Regions from separate parts of the Homo sapiens genome. Here regions 1, 2, 3 and 5 are each linked to region 4. The links are contacts of gene promoters, found by promoter capture Hi-C in blood cells and fetal thymus (Javierre and others, 2016). All regions are on one chromosome and are shown on one strand. Each heading gives the region's core, a stretch centred on a gene start or on the middle of the fragment in contact. The rest is flanking DNA. Distances are from core to core; before and after follow the strand shown.

The links. Contacts are between HindIII fragments. The CHiCAGO score rates a contact against its expected background, and 5 or more counts as called.
Region 1: a fragment that was not itself captured here is called in contact with the fragment with the promoter of CITED1 in region 4 in 1 of 17 cell types (M1 macrophages); the score reaches 5.5 in M1 macrophages.
Region 2: a fragment that was not itself captured here is called in contact with the fragment with the promoter of CITED1 in region 4 in 5 of 17 cell types (megakaryocytes, endothelial precursors, M1 macrophages and 2 more); the score reaches 9.6 in megakaryocytes.
Region 3: a fragment that was not itself captured here is called in contact with the fragment with the promoter of CITED1 in region 4 in 1 of 17 cell types (megakaryocytes); the score reaches 5.5 in megakaryocytes.
Region 5: a fragment that was not itself captured here is called in contact with the fragment with the promoter of CITED1 in region 4 in 1 of 17 cell types (megakaryocytes); the score reaches 5.8 in megakaryocytes.

What each region holds. Positions count from the first base shown.
Region 1 is chrX:72,480,102-72,482,801 of GRCh38, reverse strand. The region is part of intron 7 of HDAC8 (histone deacetylase 8); the gene reads left to right. Among named protein-coding and RNA genes, the nearest start is that of HDAC8, 91 kb to the left of the region's middle. The HindIII fragment of the contact is 7,840 bases long and covers 1-2,700 here.
Region 2 is chrX:72,514,989-72,517,688 of GRCh38, reverse strand. The region is part of intron 4 of HDAC8 (histone deacetylase 8); the gene reads left to right. Among named protein-coding and RNA genes, the nearest start is that of HDAC8, 57 kb to the left of the region's middle. The HindIII fragment of the contact is 1,195 bases long and covers 743-1,937 here.
Region 3 is chrX:72,456,886-72,459,585 of GRCh38, reverse strand. The region is part of intron 9 of HDAC8 (histone deacetylase 8); the gene reads left to right. Among named protein-coding and RNA genes, the nearest start is that of HDAC8, 110 kb to the left of the region's middle. The HindIII fragment of the contact is 5,146 bases long and covers 1-2,700 here.
Region 4 is chrX:72,304,610-72,307,309 of GRCh38, reverse strand. CITED1 (Cbp/p300 interacting transactivator with Glu/Asp rich carboxy-terminal domain 1) reads left to right here and starts at 1,396. Exons shown (of 3, transcript NM_001144887.2): 1 at 1,396-1,485. LOC105373250 (a long non-coding RNA gene) reads right to left here and starts at 1,208. Exons shown (of 3, transcript XR_938441.2): 1 at 1,090-1,208. RefSeq lists an enhancer at 341-390 and a silencer at 117-411. The HindIII fragment of the contact is 8,247 bases long and covers 1-2,700 here.
Region 5 is chrX:72,497,513-72,500,212 of GRCh38, reverse strand. All of the region lies in intron 4 of HDAC8 (histone deacetylase 8), which reads left to right. Among named protein-coding and RNA genes, the nearest start is that of HDAC8, 74 kb to the left of the region's middle. The HindIII fragment of the contact is 4,771 bases long and covers 1-2,700 here.

The DNA of each region.
Region 1 (2,700 bases), core at 200-2,699, 180 kb before region 4:
CTTAAGGTCTCACAATTAGTAAATGGTGAAGCCTGTGTTTGAACCCACGTCTGTCTGCCTCTTAACTATTGACTATATTGTCCCCAAAGTTGTCACATGGAAGTGAGAAACTTAATGGTTGCAAACAAATTAAAAAACACCATCCCTGGGACTTCTTGGAAAACTTTATCTCAGGGGATTGCAGAAAATCCCCCCCCCCAAAATAGAAACCATTTAACTATGCAAATGAACCACATGATCCACAGTATATGCAATCCATTGTATTTGTTTGTGTAAGTGCAACTTAGATTTTTGCCCAAAAAAGAATTGTTTAATCTCAAGGATTTAATTTGTAATTTTATAGATAGAAAACAAGGATAAATATTGCCAGAATTAACTTCTTAGGTTTTCAATTCCTAAAGTTTGTAAACATGCAGATTCTGTAAAACCACCTTTCCCTTCATTTTCAATGGAGAAAATCCTGACTTCCTACTTTAGAAAGTGAATAGTGTCCCCTGTCATTTTACAGAGGTCTTCTCATGGAATTACATCTTTTTCATGTGGTTGTTTTAGATGAGTATAGCTAAAAATTTTTAACATCATGCATTTTTAAACTATAGGCAAAATTTATACCACCTCTTGGTCCTTGTGGAAGGCCATATCTGCATAAAGGGTAGAGATTCTCCATCCATGCTAAGCTGTTCAACCAGTACCAGTTGAATAAAATGAGGACCAAGGGACATCACTAAAGGGCATTTAAGGGAAGTGTTTCCTTTCACTATTGACTTACTGTTAATATTTAAAGAAGAGATGTTTTAATTATGATAGGTTTTTCTTTCATTATAATAAGTCATCTAGAATTTATCTTCCACCTGGGACTCCAGGTTATCATTCAATTTTAGAAGCAGGTAGGGCTGGGCACAGGTGGCTCACAGCTGTAATCCCAGCACTTTGGGAGGCCAAGGTGAGCAGATTGATTGAGGCTAGGGGTTCAAGACCAGCCTGGCCAACATAATAAAACCCCGTCTCTACTAAAAGTACAAAAATTAGCTAGGTGTGGGATTATAGGTGCGCACCTATAATCCCAGCTACTTAGGAGGCTGAGGCAGGAGAATCACTTGAACCTGGGAGATAGAGGTTGCAGTGAGCTGAAATTGTGCCACTGTACTCTAGCTTGTATGACAGAGTGAGACTCTGTCTCAACAACAAAAAAAAAAGGAAGCAGGTAGATCTTCAGTGAAAGAGAGCCGAAAAAGTGTAATTTACTCCTTTAGGCCTGGTGATGTGGCAAAAGCAATGCATACACACACATATTCATAAATAACTATTTTAAGCGATACAAATTTTTTAAAATTCTCTTTCATTTGATGAGAAGGGATGAACCCTCTAGAAATTTGCATGTGAGAACAAGTAATTATTTAGCCTTCCATCTTCATCCCTGATATGGTCTAGCTTTGTGTCCCCACCCAAATCTCATCTTGAATTGTAATCCAAATTGTAATCCCCACGTTTTGGGGGAGGGAATCATGGGAGGTGATTAGATCATAGGGGCAATTCCCTCATGCTGTTCTCATGATAGTGAGTTCTCATGAGATCTGATAGTTTTATAAGGGGCTTTCCCCCCTTCACTCTGCCCTTCCTCCTGCCGCCATGTGAAGAAGGACATCTTTGCTTCCCCTTCTGCCATGATTGTAAGTTTCCTGAGGCTTCCCCAGCCCTGCAGAACCTCTATAAATTACCTAGTCTTTTTTTTTTTTACTTTAAGTTCTAGGATATATGTGCAGAACGTGCAGGTTTGTTACATAGTTATATATGTGCCATGGTGGTTTGCTGCACCTATCAACCCATCATCTAGGTTTTAAGCCCCATATGCATTAGGTATTTGTCCTAAGGCTCTCCCTCCCCTGGCTCCCCACCCCCTGACAAGCCCCAGTGTGTGAGTTTCCCCTCCCTGTGTCCATGTGTTCTCATTGTTCAGCTCTCACTTATGAGGAAGAACATGCAGTGTTTGGTTTTCTGTTCCAGTGTTAGTTTTCTGAGAATGATGGCTTCCAGCTTCATCCATGTCCCTGCAAAGGACATGAACTCTTTCATTTTTATGGCTGCATAGTATTCCATGGTATATATATGCCACATTTTCTTTATCCAGTCTATCATTGATGGGCATTTGGGTTGGTTCCAAGTCTGCTATTGTAAATAGTGCTGCAATAAACATACATGTGCATGTGTCTTTATAGTAGAATGACTTATATTCCTTTGGGTATATACCCAGTAATGGGATTGCTGGGTCAGATGGTATTTCTGGTAGATCCTTGAGGAATCGCAACACTGTCTTCCACAATGGTTGAACTAATTTACACTCCCACCAACAGTGTAAAAGCATTTCTACTTCTGCACAGCCTCACCAGCATCTGTTGTTTCCTGACTTTACAGCAGCATGAGCACAAGCTAATACATTCCCCATTTCATTACAATCTAAGAACTGATAAAAAATTCTTTACAAACTTATTCTACCTCTCTTCAGTTGGGTCACAGCTACACTACCTTGATAATCACTAGCTCACTGTCGCCCAGTGATTAAGGTAACAGAAGCTGCTAATTCATTCTATAAGCCTTGCACTTTGAACTCAGCCCTCTGTAAGTAAGGTATTTGTGTTAAATGCTTTTGTTCTATTTAATAAACTTTTATCCTGCCTCTCCGGGGTATGGCAGATGTAAAAT
Region 2 (2,700 bases), core at 91-2,590, 210 kb before region 4:
ATAAGGGAAGAACAGTCTTTTCCACAAATGGTACTAGGATCTACATGCAAAAGAATGAATTTCAATCCCTACCTCAAGCCATACATAAAAATGAATTCCAAATGGATCATAGGCCAAAATGTAAGAGCTAAAACTGTGAAAGTCTTACAAGAAAGCATAGGAGTAAGTCTTCATGACCTTGGGTGAGGCAAAGCTTTCTCAGATATGTCACAGAAAGTACAAAAAAAAAGAAAATATAGATAAATTGACCATCAAAACTAAAAGCTTTTGGGCTTCAAAGAAAGTGAGAAAAACATCAAGAAAGTGAAAATACAACCAATAGAATGGGAAAAAGCATTTGCAAATTATATTTCTGATCAGAGATGTGTCCAGAATATATAAATAATTCTTACAACTCAATGATGAAAAGACAAATAACCTAATTCAAATATAGGCAGAAGATTTGAATAGATGTTTATCCAAAAAAAAATATAAATGGCCAATAAGCACTTGAAAAGATGCTCAACATCATTAGTCATTAGAAAAATGCAAATTAAAACCACAATGAGATGCCACTTCACTAAGATGGCTAGAATCAAAAGGTCAGATAATAACAAATGTACATGAAGGCATGGAGAAATTAGAATCCTCATACATTGCTGGTGGGACTGTAGAATGGTGTAGCCACTTTGGAAAGCAGTTTGGCAGTTCCTCAAAAGCAAACCATATAACTGCAAATGCACGCCATTATCCATTAGAAGCTTCTGAGGAACAACAAGAAAGCCAGTGTGCCTGGAGCAAAGTGAGTAATTTGGACAGTGGCACAAGAGGACAGAGAAGTTGCCATAGGCCACATCATACAAGGCCTTATGGACCATGGGGCTTTGGATTTTATTCTAAATGCGACGGAATTTTAAGCAAGGAGTCTTTGTTCTTAGTAAGTTTATAATGTCCACTGTAATGAATGAGAAAAAGACAATTAGAAGAAGTGCTGAACATCCTTGAAGGCCCACCTGTGATGGGAACCATAAGTGTTTAATGTGTGTCTGCAGTTATAGTTTTGTGGGTTTTTTTCCAAAAGCACTTGGCTGTCCTAGCTTTGAAAGCAGAGAAAATGGCAGAAAGGGGTCAGATGCTAAGAGGAAACTAAACATGCTAAACTCGTAAGTACTCAGGCAGGTTCTTACAGAGAAAGATGGAATTTTCAGAAGCCCTTAAGAAAGGGAATGCTGTATTTCTACTTTTTGCCATCTTTTACTGCTTTGCTGTAAACAATTAGATGCAATTAACTTAGTGAAAAAAAAAAACAAGAATCAGAAGATTTAAATATGAGCCTCAGCTTTCCCGGTGACTGTGACACTACAGGTAAATTGCCAAAGTTGACAACCTTAAGAAAGCTAAAGAAGCTCTTTCTGGCTACTTGTTAAGTCACACCAAGAAATTAGCTTTATACCATTAAACTAAACTCATTAACCTTTCTTGGCAACAATTCTGTCTCGCAAATTTCCTGTCTTACTGTTAATAAATTTCTCCTGATGCAGTTTAGCCCATTCTGCCTGGTACTAATGATAGACTAAAAGATAGTTTACATCAGATCTCATCCCTTCTCTGCTCAGAACCCTCCAATGGCTTCTCATCTCACTGAAAGTAAAATCCAAACTCCTTGCAGTGGCCTACAAGCCCCTGTGATGTCCCATCAGACAGCTTCTTGTACCCCTGTCCTTCATTACCTGTGTTTCAGCCATACTGGCTGCCTTTCAGCTTCTCAGACCAGGGAAGTTTTTTCCTGCCTCAGACCTTTTGCAGTGCTAGTCCCTCTGCACTTTTAAAAAGTGATAGACCAGTGAACTTTTCATTAAGTATGTCCAAAAAGTCCTGAAGACTTCTCCATCTCAGTATGGATGAGTTTCTTTTCACCTTTTGGGTCTCTATTTAAATGCTACCTCCTCAGAGAAGCTTTCACTGGACTGACCTATCTAAGCCCTACACACCCCACTGCTCTATCACATTCCTGTGTGTTATCTTTGCAACATTGCTTGTCACAATAGGGCTGTTTTCTTATTTGGTTGTTTGCTTACCTATTTATCATCTGTTCCACATACTTCCCCCCCACCCCCCCCCCACACACACTGAAAGATCCTTGAGAATGAGGTATTATCTGTCCTGTTCATCATTATTCCCAGAGTGTAGAACAGAGTACTCAATACAAATTTGCATGTTGAGGGAGGAAGGAAGGGAAGGGGCTTCTTGTTATCCATGCCCTGCTGTTAAGTAAGCCCAGTTTTCCTCAAGATTATTTCTTAAATGTAGTATATATTCACAATGGAATATTATTCAGCCTTGAAAAAGAAGGAAGTCCTACCATTTGTGACAAGATGAATAAACCTGGAGGGCATTAGGCTAAATGAGCTAAATCAGTACCACGTGATTTCACTTATATGTGAAATCTAAAAAGGTCAGACTCAAAAACAGAGAAAAGAATGGCGGTTACCAGGGGTAGAGAAGGGGGAAATGGGGAGATGTTGGTCAGGGGATACAGTTTCAGGTACACAAGATGAATACGTTCTGGAAAGCTAATGTACAACAATGTGGCTATAATAATAACTTTATTGTATACTTGAAATCTGCCAAGAGAGTAGATCTTAAGTCTTCTCATCACAAAAAGTGGTAACTATCTGCAGTGATGGATATGTTAATTAGCTTGATTGTGGTGGTTATTTC
Region 3 (2,700 bases), core at 53-2,552, 150 kb before region 4:
AGTACATAAAATACCCTGCCCTCCATGAGCTGAAAATATAATCAAGAAATCTAGTAGGTGAAAAGGTCAAGATAATGCAGTGGTCAGTTGCAGCCGGGCTGACCTCACTCTCTTCGCTCTCAGTCTTGGGCTTTAGTTCTTTCATCTCCTAGGGTAATAATCCTCCTCCTCCAAATGCCCGTTCCCTACTTCTCTATTATCTTCCTAGGTCCAGCTTCAAGTCCTGTGCCCTTCAAAAACCCTTACCTAAATACATCAATCCCCTTTGAGCTCTTCCTTCACGTTCATTTATTCCTTGTTTCATTTAACAATTATGTGTTGGGCCCCTACTATTTGCCAGGCCTTATTGAGACCTGGATTCAGAGATACAAAGACTAATGAGATAATCCCAGTGCCCTCCAAAATCTCACGATCTAATAAAGGTGACAGAACAATGTGCTCACATCCAGGACAGATGAGGACCATAGGGGATATGTTTCAACAAGACTTTGAACTGACTCTTAGAGGCTGATTAGGAGTTCGCTAGGTGAAGAAGAAGAAAAAGGCATTCTAGGCAGAGGGAACAAAGATCAGAAAGGGACTGGTGCCTCATGGGACCAGTGAAAAATTTGCTATGTGTAGATTACAGGGTATATGAGAGACAGTAGGAAGGATTAAGGCTTGAATGGAAGTTAAGGCCAGATTATGAAGAGCCCTGAATGCTACATTAAAGAGCTTACACTTTTTTCTGTGAAAACAAATGAGCTTTAACTTTTAAAAAGCTCAGTTGGTAGAGATAGATTGCAAAGAGGAGAGACTTGAGAAACGCAGACCTGTTAAGAGATTCAAATATATACCTATAACACTTACAGTCTGTGCCATTCATTTGGTCATCATTGTTTTGGTTGTCTGCACCACGCCCCCAACCCTAGTGCTTAGCTGAGTGTTAAGTAGCCACCACCTAGTTGAATAAATGAGTGTTTGAGTAAGTGTCTCAATATTCATATTGGGAAACTTCTATTTTTTTAAGATGAAAGAATTGGAAGCGTAATCTAGCCTTTCTCTGGGAACCCAATTTAACCTTAATAGCAACTTTCCATCCTTTGCAAGAGGTATCAGGTAGCCCAGCTATAGGAAACAGGTGTATCCATGGGAGAACATTATATTACCAATGCAGGGAATGGAGTTCAGAAGGCAGAAGCCCAGCACAAATATTAGAAGTGATAAGGGTAGGACTTCAAGTATAGCGCTCATAAAATATAAAACCGGTGATACCATAAAGCCAGTGATGCCATAAGGCCAGTGATGGCATAAAGCCAGTGATGAGGAAGTTAGTTTCAGCCAGAGCACTGGGGAGCCAGGTTGGCCAGCCAAGCAGTCCCAGCTGGGAAAGCTGAGAAGAATGGAGCTTGTATGTATGATTGGCCCAGATATCTCTACCATAGGGAAAGCCCAAAGGTGTCATGGTACCATGAAAAGACCAGTACATGGCAAATTTAGCACAATCACATGGATTATTATGTATAAAAATGTTCTATAGTCCAGTACTACTATTTAGATCCCGTGACTTATCTAGGATAGAGTAGGGCTGGGGTGTGTGTGTGTGTGTGTGTATGTATATGTGTATCATCACATAGGTTTACTAATGGAAAATATTAACACTACTTAACCAGACTGCTTTTTATGGACTGATTAAACTGTACCTCATTCATATTAGGGAACATATGTAGCCATTAAAAAGAATTAGGTCAATTTATATACAAGTATATGTTACTAATAAAAAAACAGCCTTCTTGCACTGTAACCTGTAGATGGCACTGAATCTATAGATTGATTTGTGCAGGAGTAACATCATAACAATATTTAATCTTTTAAGCCATGAATTTATCTTTCTATTTACTTGAGTCTTCTTTAATTCCAAATTATAATCTGTACTCTCCAGTAAACACATCTTACACAAATATTATTGAATTTATCCCTAAGTACTGTATTTCATTATTTTGATCCTATGTAAATGGTATTTTCATTTCAATTTCCAATAGTTTGTTGCCAGAATATTGAAGGACAATTGACTTTTCATATTGATCTTGAATAATGTAACCTTGCTAAATTTACTTATTAGCTCTAGTAACTTTTTTGTAGATTGCTTAGCATAATCCATGTATGCAAACATCATCTGTGAATAAAGAGAATTTTCTTTCTGTATAATCTTCATGTCTTTTATTTCTTTTTCTCACCTTTTTCACTGGTTGGGACCTCCAGTGCAATGCTGAGTGGAAATGGTGTGTGAATATCTTTATCTGGTCCCCAGTCACAGGGGGAAAGTGCTTAATCTTCACTATGAAGTGTGATATTAGCTGTAGGATTTTTCAAAAATGTTCTTTTTTAGGTTGAGGAAGTTCCCTTCTATTCCTAATTTACTGAGACTTTTTTTTTTCTCACAAATGAGTACTGATTTTGTCAAATGTTTTTCTTCATCTATTGAAATGATCATATGGTATCCTCCTTTATTGTTAGTACAGTAAATTGCACTGATTTTTTAATGTTAAACTGACTTTGCATTCCTGGAATAAACCCTGCTTGGTCATGTTATATTATCCTTTTTATGTATTGCTGGATTCATTTTGCTGAAACTTGGTCAAGGTTTTTTTGTGTCTATGTTGATAAGGGATGTTGGCCTGTTGTTTTCTTTTCTTGTAGTGTCTTTGTCTGGTTTTGATA
Region 4 (2,700 bases), core at 147-2,646:
AGGGCTGCCGGACTCGCGTGGCCGCGTGGACTCCGTTCCCCAGCCGGCCCTTTGCTTTCACACGATCCGCGGTGACTGCACCAGCTCGAGCGCCTTTAAAGGGCCACAGACGCCAGCCGCTGCTATAAAAATGTGCCCGGCGGCAAAGCTGCAGAAGGGGCACCGCTGAGCTGCCGAGAGGAAGCTCGCTCTGCCCGGCTGCCCTCTTGTAGTCCGCCGGCGAGGGGCAGTTCTCGGTGAGGAGGAAGAGAGCAGCGGACGGCACAGCACCCGCGCGGGCCCTCCGTGAGTATCCAGTTCAGATTTTGCCACCAACTCGCCCACGAGCCAGGACATGTGCTAATAATGCCCTAAGCCGGTTATAAAGACGTGGAAATTGAGGGGAGAAAAAAAAAGGGAAAAAAAGGGTCTGTCCTTCCTGGGATTCCTAGCCGAGGCCAGTCTGCTGCCGTGTGCGTGTGCGTCAGGGCTCTCCGGGCGGCAATGGGGGCTTGAGAGCCGGGTCCCCAGCGCCGGGAAGGGAGCGCGGTGGCCGCCACCGCCACCGCCCCGGAGTCCGGCGCCGAAGCTGCGGGCGGGCGGGCGGGCACCAGCTCGGTCAGGGGCTGCTTGGCGCGGCACTGTGCGGTGCAGCGGCGGCGCGGCGCGGTGCGGGCTTTTCCCAGGCGCCCCGGGGTCGGGTGGCCAACGGCGCGGCCGCGGGCGCTGAGCGCGACCGGTTCGCGGTAGCGGTGGCGGCGGCGTGCGTGCCAGGGGCTGGGGGCTCCGCCGCCTCTCTTGCGGCTCACCGAGCTCCGCGCTTCCCTCTCTCCAGGGCAGGCGGCTTCTCAGAGGTAAGCCGGGCCGCCGGGCTGGGCGCCGGGCTGGGCGGCGGGGCCGAGGACTCCCGTGGAGCGGGTATGGGGAGTGGGCGGCCGCCAGGCGGGCCGGAGGGTTCTGGGGAGACTTGCTTTCTGTTGGAAAGCTGCTCTGCTGGGGGCGAGGGGCCGCCCGCCCGCCCGCCCGCCAGCGCTCGGGTTCGCTTGCCAGCGCGCCCCCCTGCCGGCCAGCGGGGCCGGGTGCCCGCTTCTCCCGGGGAGACGGCAGCACCTTTTCTCCCTGCGCCCGCGCTTTCTCCAGCTTGGCTTCCACCGACTTTGCTAATCTCCCGGACCGCATCTGGACGCTCTGGCTCCGGAGCTGCACAAAGCTCAGATTTACTTCGGGGAATTGAGGCAAGAGGGGGCTTTTCGGGCCGAGTTCAGCGGAATTGCGGGATGGAAGTTAGCGAATTTGGGCAACTTGCCTCTACTGCCCAGTCGACCTCAGCCCTCCCCTCCCCCGACACACGCCCACACACACACACCCACGCGCACACCCCTCTCCCTATAAACGCGGGCTGGCGAGCCGCGCGCCGAGTCCCTGCTTCGCAGAGCACCGGACTTGGAGTCAGAGAGACCTGGCTGCGAATCCCGGCTCCGCCACTTTCTAGCGCTGTGACCTTGGGCAAGTTACCGCACCTCTCCGAGCCTCTCTCACTCTTCTCCTAGCGGGGTTTTAGCACTGACCGCAGGCGGCTTGGCTAGGGGGTAGGCTCAGCCTGCTGCCGCGTCGGATGCTCAGCGGGCGCTCAGTAAGTGTTGATCAGGCGCGAGAGTGGCAGCAGCCGGCGCCGGAGTGCGGACTCGCCGCGGAGGCCGACACCCCGTGCCCCTTCCTGCCTGTCCATCCTGTCTCTAAGATCAGTTCCTGATACAGCACTTGCGGGAACGGACGCTCAGGGCCCCGGTGGCCTGGGTGCACGCGCCCGCCGTGCAAGGGATGCTCCCGGCCGCCCCCGGTTCCGCGGCTCCATCTGGGATGCGGCGAGGAGGGCAGCCGAGCTGTCCGCAAACAACGGGCCTTTAGTTTTCAGGTGGCGAAACTGACTGGTCTGGTTAGAGCGCGTCCAAGCCAAGCCGCAGTGCTGTTTGGATTTTTAAATTTCTCCTTCTGAGTGAGAAAATAGCAATCGAGATGGAACCATCCGGTTGGTGCCATTTTAACTTTTGGTCCCCCAACAGGTTAAAGATGAGGCCCCCACCTGCCTCTCCCTTCTCTTTTCCCTCTCCCCTTCCCACCCCTGTCTAGGCGGGAGGGGGCTGCTCGCCCAAGGGAAGGCCTGAAGCGAAGAGCGGGCAGCGGGACTGGGAACTGGTGGCCGGGGGGCCGCCAGGCATCAGCCGGCGAGAAGGCACTTGTTGCTCTAGGTTTCCCAGCCGCCTGTCGCAGCCGTTTCGCAGTGGTCAGCTCGCGGCTTGGAGAGCGGGCTGGGACGTTTCCGCGTTGCCAAGTTTTGCCCACGAACGGGCTAGAGGGTGGTGGAGGAGGGCAGAAAGCCGGGGAAGCAGAGCCAGGGATGCCGATGGAAATGCGATTGCTTCTTCAGACGCATTCAACAACACTTACTGAGCGCCTATTGAGCGCAGACCCAGGCTGGGGTCAGGGTGGGTGGTGGGTCAGTAATGGAAGGCAGAAGATCTGAATGGACACAGGGCCTCTTCTGGGGGAGCTCCCAGATTGAAGAGGGAGGCGCGGTAAAATGGTCTTCCCCCACGAACTGATATCAGAATAGAGAGAGTTTTTTTGCTCGTTCTCTCTTTTGATTTTTCTAATGTTTCTCTTTTGGTTTTGCTGTTGTTGCTGCTGCTCCTGTTGTTTTTTCTTCGTTTTGTACATTCG
Region 5 (2,700 bases), core at 13-2,512, 190 kb before region 4:
AGCTTTCTTTATACATCTGGTAGAATTTGGCTGTGAATCTATCAAGTGCCAGGCTTTTTTTAGTTGGTAAAGCTATTTATTACTGATTCAATTCTGGAGCTCATTATTGGTCTGTTTAGGGTATCAGTTTCTCCCTGGTTCAGTCTTAGGAGGGTGTATATGTCCAGGAATTTATCCATCTCTTCTGGGTTTTCTAGTTTGTGTGCATAGAGTGTTCATCATAGATTCTGCTGGTTATTTTTGCTTCTGTGGGGCCAGTGGTAACATTCCCTTCATCATTTCTAATTGTGTTTATTTGGATCTTCTTTCTTTTCTTCTTTATTAGTCTAGCTAGCGGCCTATCTTATTAATTTTTTCAAAAATCTAACTTTTGCATTCATCAATCTTTTGAAAGGTTTTTCATGTCTCAATTTCCTTCAGTTCAGCTCTGATTTTGCTTGTCTTATGCTAGCTTTGGGGTTGATTTGTTCTTGCTTCTCTAATTCAGTTGCAATGTTAAGTTATTAATTTGAGATCTTTCTACCTTTTTGATGTGGGCATTTAGTGCTAGGAGTTTCCCTCTTAACACTGCCTTAGCTGCTTCCCAGAGATTCTGGTGTATTGTATCTATTTTCTTATTAGTTTCAAATAACTTCTTGATTTTTGCCTTAATTTTATTATTTACTCAAAAGTTATTCAGGAGCATGTTGTTTAGTTTCCATGTAATTATTTTGTTGCATGGCTTTGAGTGATTTTCTCAGTCTTGACTTCTATTTTTACTGTGCTGTGTCCCAAGAGTGTATTTGGTGGTATGATTTCAGTTATTTTGCGCTTGCTAGGGATTGCTTTATGTCCAATTATGTGGTTGATTTTAGAGTAAGTGCTATGTGGCAATGAGAAGAGTGTATATTTTGTTGTTTTTGGGTGGAGAGTTCTGTAGAGGTCTATCAGATCCAGACAAAAATGTCTATATACATAATGATTAGCCCTTGTCTTAGTACATCTGTGTTCTTTTAAAGGAATACCTGAGTCTGGGTAATTTATAAAGAAAAGAGGTATTTGGCTTACAGCTCTTCAGTCTGTACAAGAAGCATGGTGCCAGTATCTGCTTCTGGTGAGGGCTTCAGGCTGCCTCCACTTATGACAGAAGGTAAAGGGAAGCCACATGTGCAAATCACATGGTGAGAGAGGAAGCAAGAGAGAGGGAGAAGGTGTCAGGCTCTTTTTAACAACCAGCTCCCAGGGGAACTCTAGCAGTAACTAATAGAGTGAGAACTCACTCATTACTGTGAGATCACAACCAAGCCATTTGTAAGGGATACACCCCCATGACCCAACACTTCCCACTAGGCCCCACCTCCAACACTGGGGATCAAATTTCAACATGAGGCTTGGAAGGCCAAATATCCAAACTGTAGAAATCCTATTTTCAAAGAAGAGAGGGTATTATATGTAATTTATAAAAATGCATGAACATCATCTTTATAGAGAAAAAAGACTCAGATATAACATATAATAATCCTGACATAATATATCATCAATATACCAAGCATATAGGTTGAATATACCCAGAATATATCAAGAACATCAAGTAAAGAGATTCAGTAATCTGGAATAGTTCTTAAACATGTGTATATTAACAGAATTTCATAGGTAAATGATGTGAATCCCCAGTTGAAAACTAATGACTGGAAAAATGCTAGATTCAAAACAAAGAAGCAATGTGGAGACCAAGTTAACATTTTAAAAAGCTGAAATTATTACTGAAAACACTATACTATAGTTATCTAATATCTAGCAAAGCAGCATCAGGATTCTGACATATCTCGGCCAGTGAGAGCACTAATGAATCTGTAGAAACGTTCCATACAGCATACAATTTCTAAAATGTTTATGCTAATAACATTTTCCTATACCAATTTAACCTAGAAAAAGCAAAGCATCTGTTCTGATTTGACAACTCTTCCCATGCAACTCCTCAATAGTAATATATTGAATAAATCTAATTCTTTCTAGCACTTCTCTTTCAATAAGGTGAAAGAACAAATCTTTTTTTTTTTTTTTTTTGCCATTTTAACAGTGAGGAAACCAAATTCTAGCTTTGCATCAGAATATTTGATACTAAAGTTCTTTTTGGAAATATTGTAAATCAACTCATCAAACCTTAGCCAGCCACCTCAACAAATAAAATTCCCTTTCTGTGATCCCTCTACAACTTTCTATATCTATATGCATCCTTTATAACAACTTCTTTAATTGGCAAAAAATAGCATGTTCATTACCAGGCCCAAGTATACATAACTTTTCTGCAGCATGTAGAAATAAGAAGCAAAAGCATACAAAATTATATGTAGTAATTAATATTTCAGCATTCTCTTACTTAGAAATGGTCTAGGTATGTAATGAATATTCATTAATTCAATTTAGTATCAGCTCAAAGTTTTTAGTTACCTAAAGATTTTATAAATTATCTTCAAGTTGATATACTGCAAAACATAATTACTGTTGAAATAAAGTTTGTCAGAATAACGACTCAACTTGGTTAAACAAATTTACATTTTTTATAATCGTAAACACTTAGGAGAAGTAATGTTAGCTCATTCAATCAGTAAACCTGTCTATGTTGAGGAAGAATATACTCAAGTAGAAAAAAAATCTACCTGTATATTATGCCCAACACTGATAAATCAGAAAAGACATGGCTGGTTTTAGTAAGCCAAA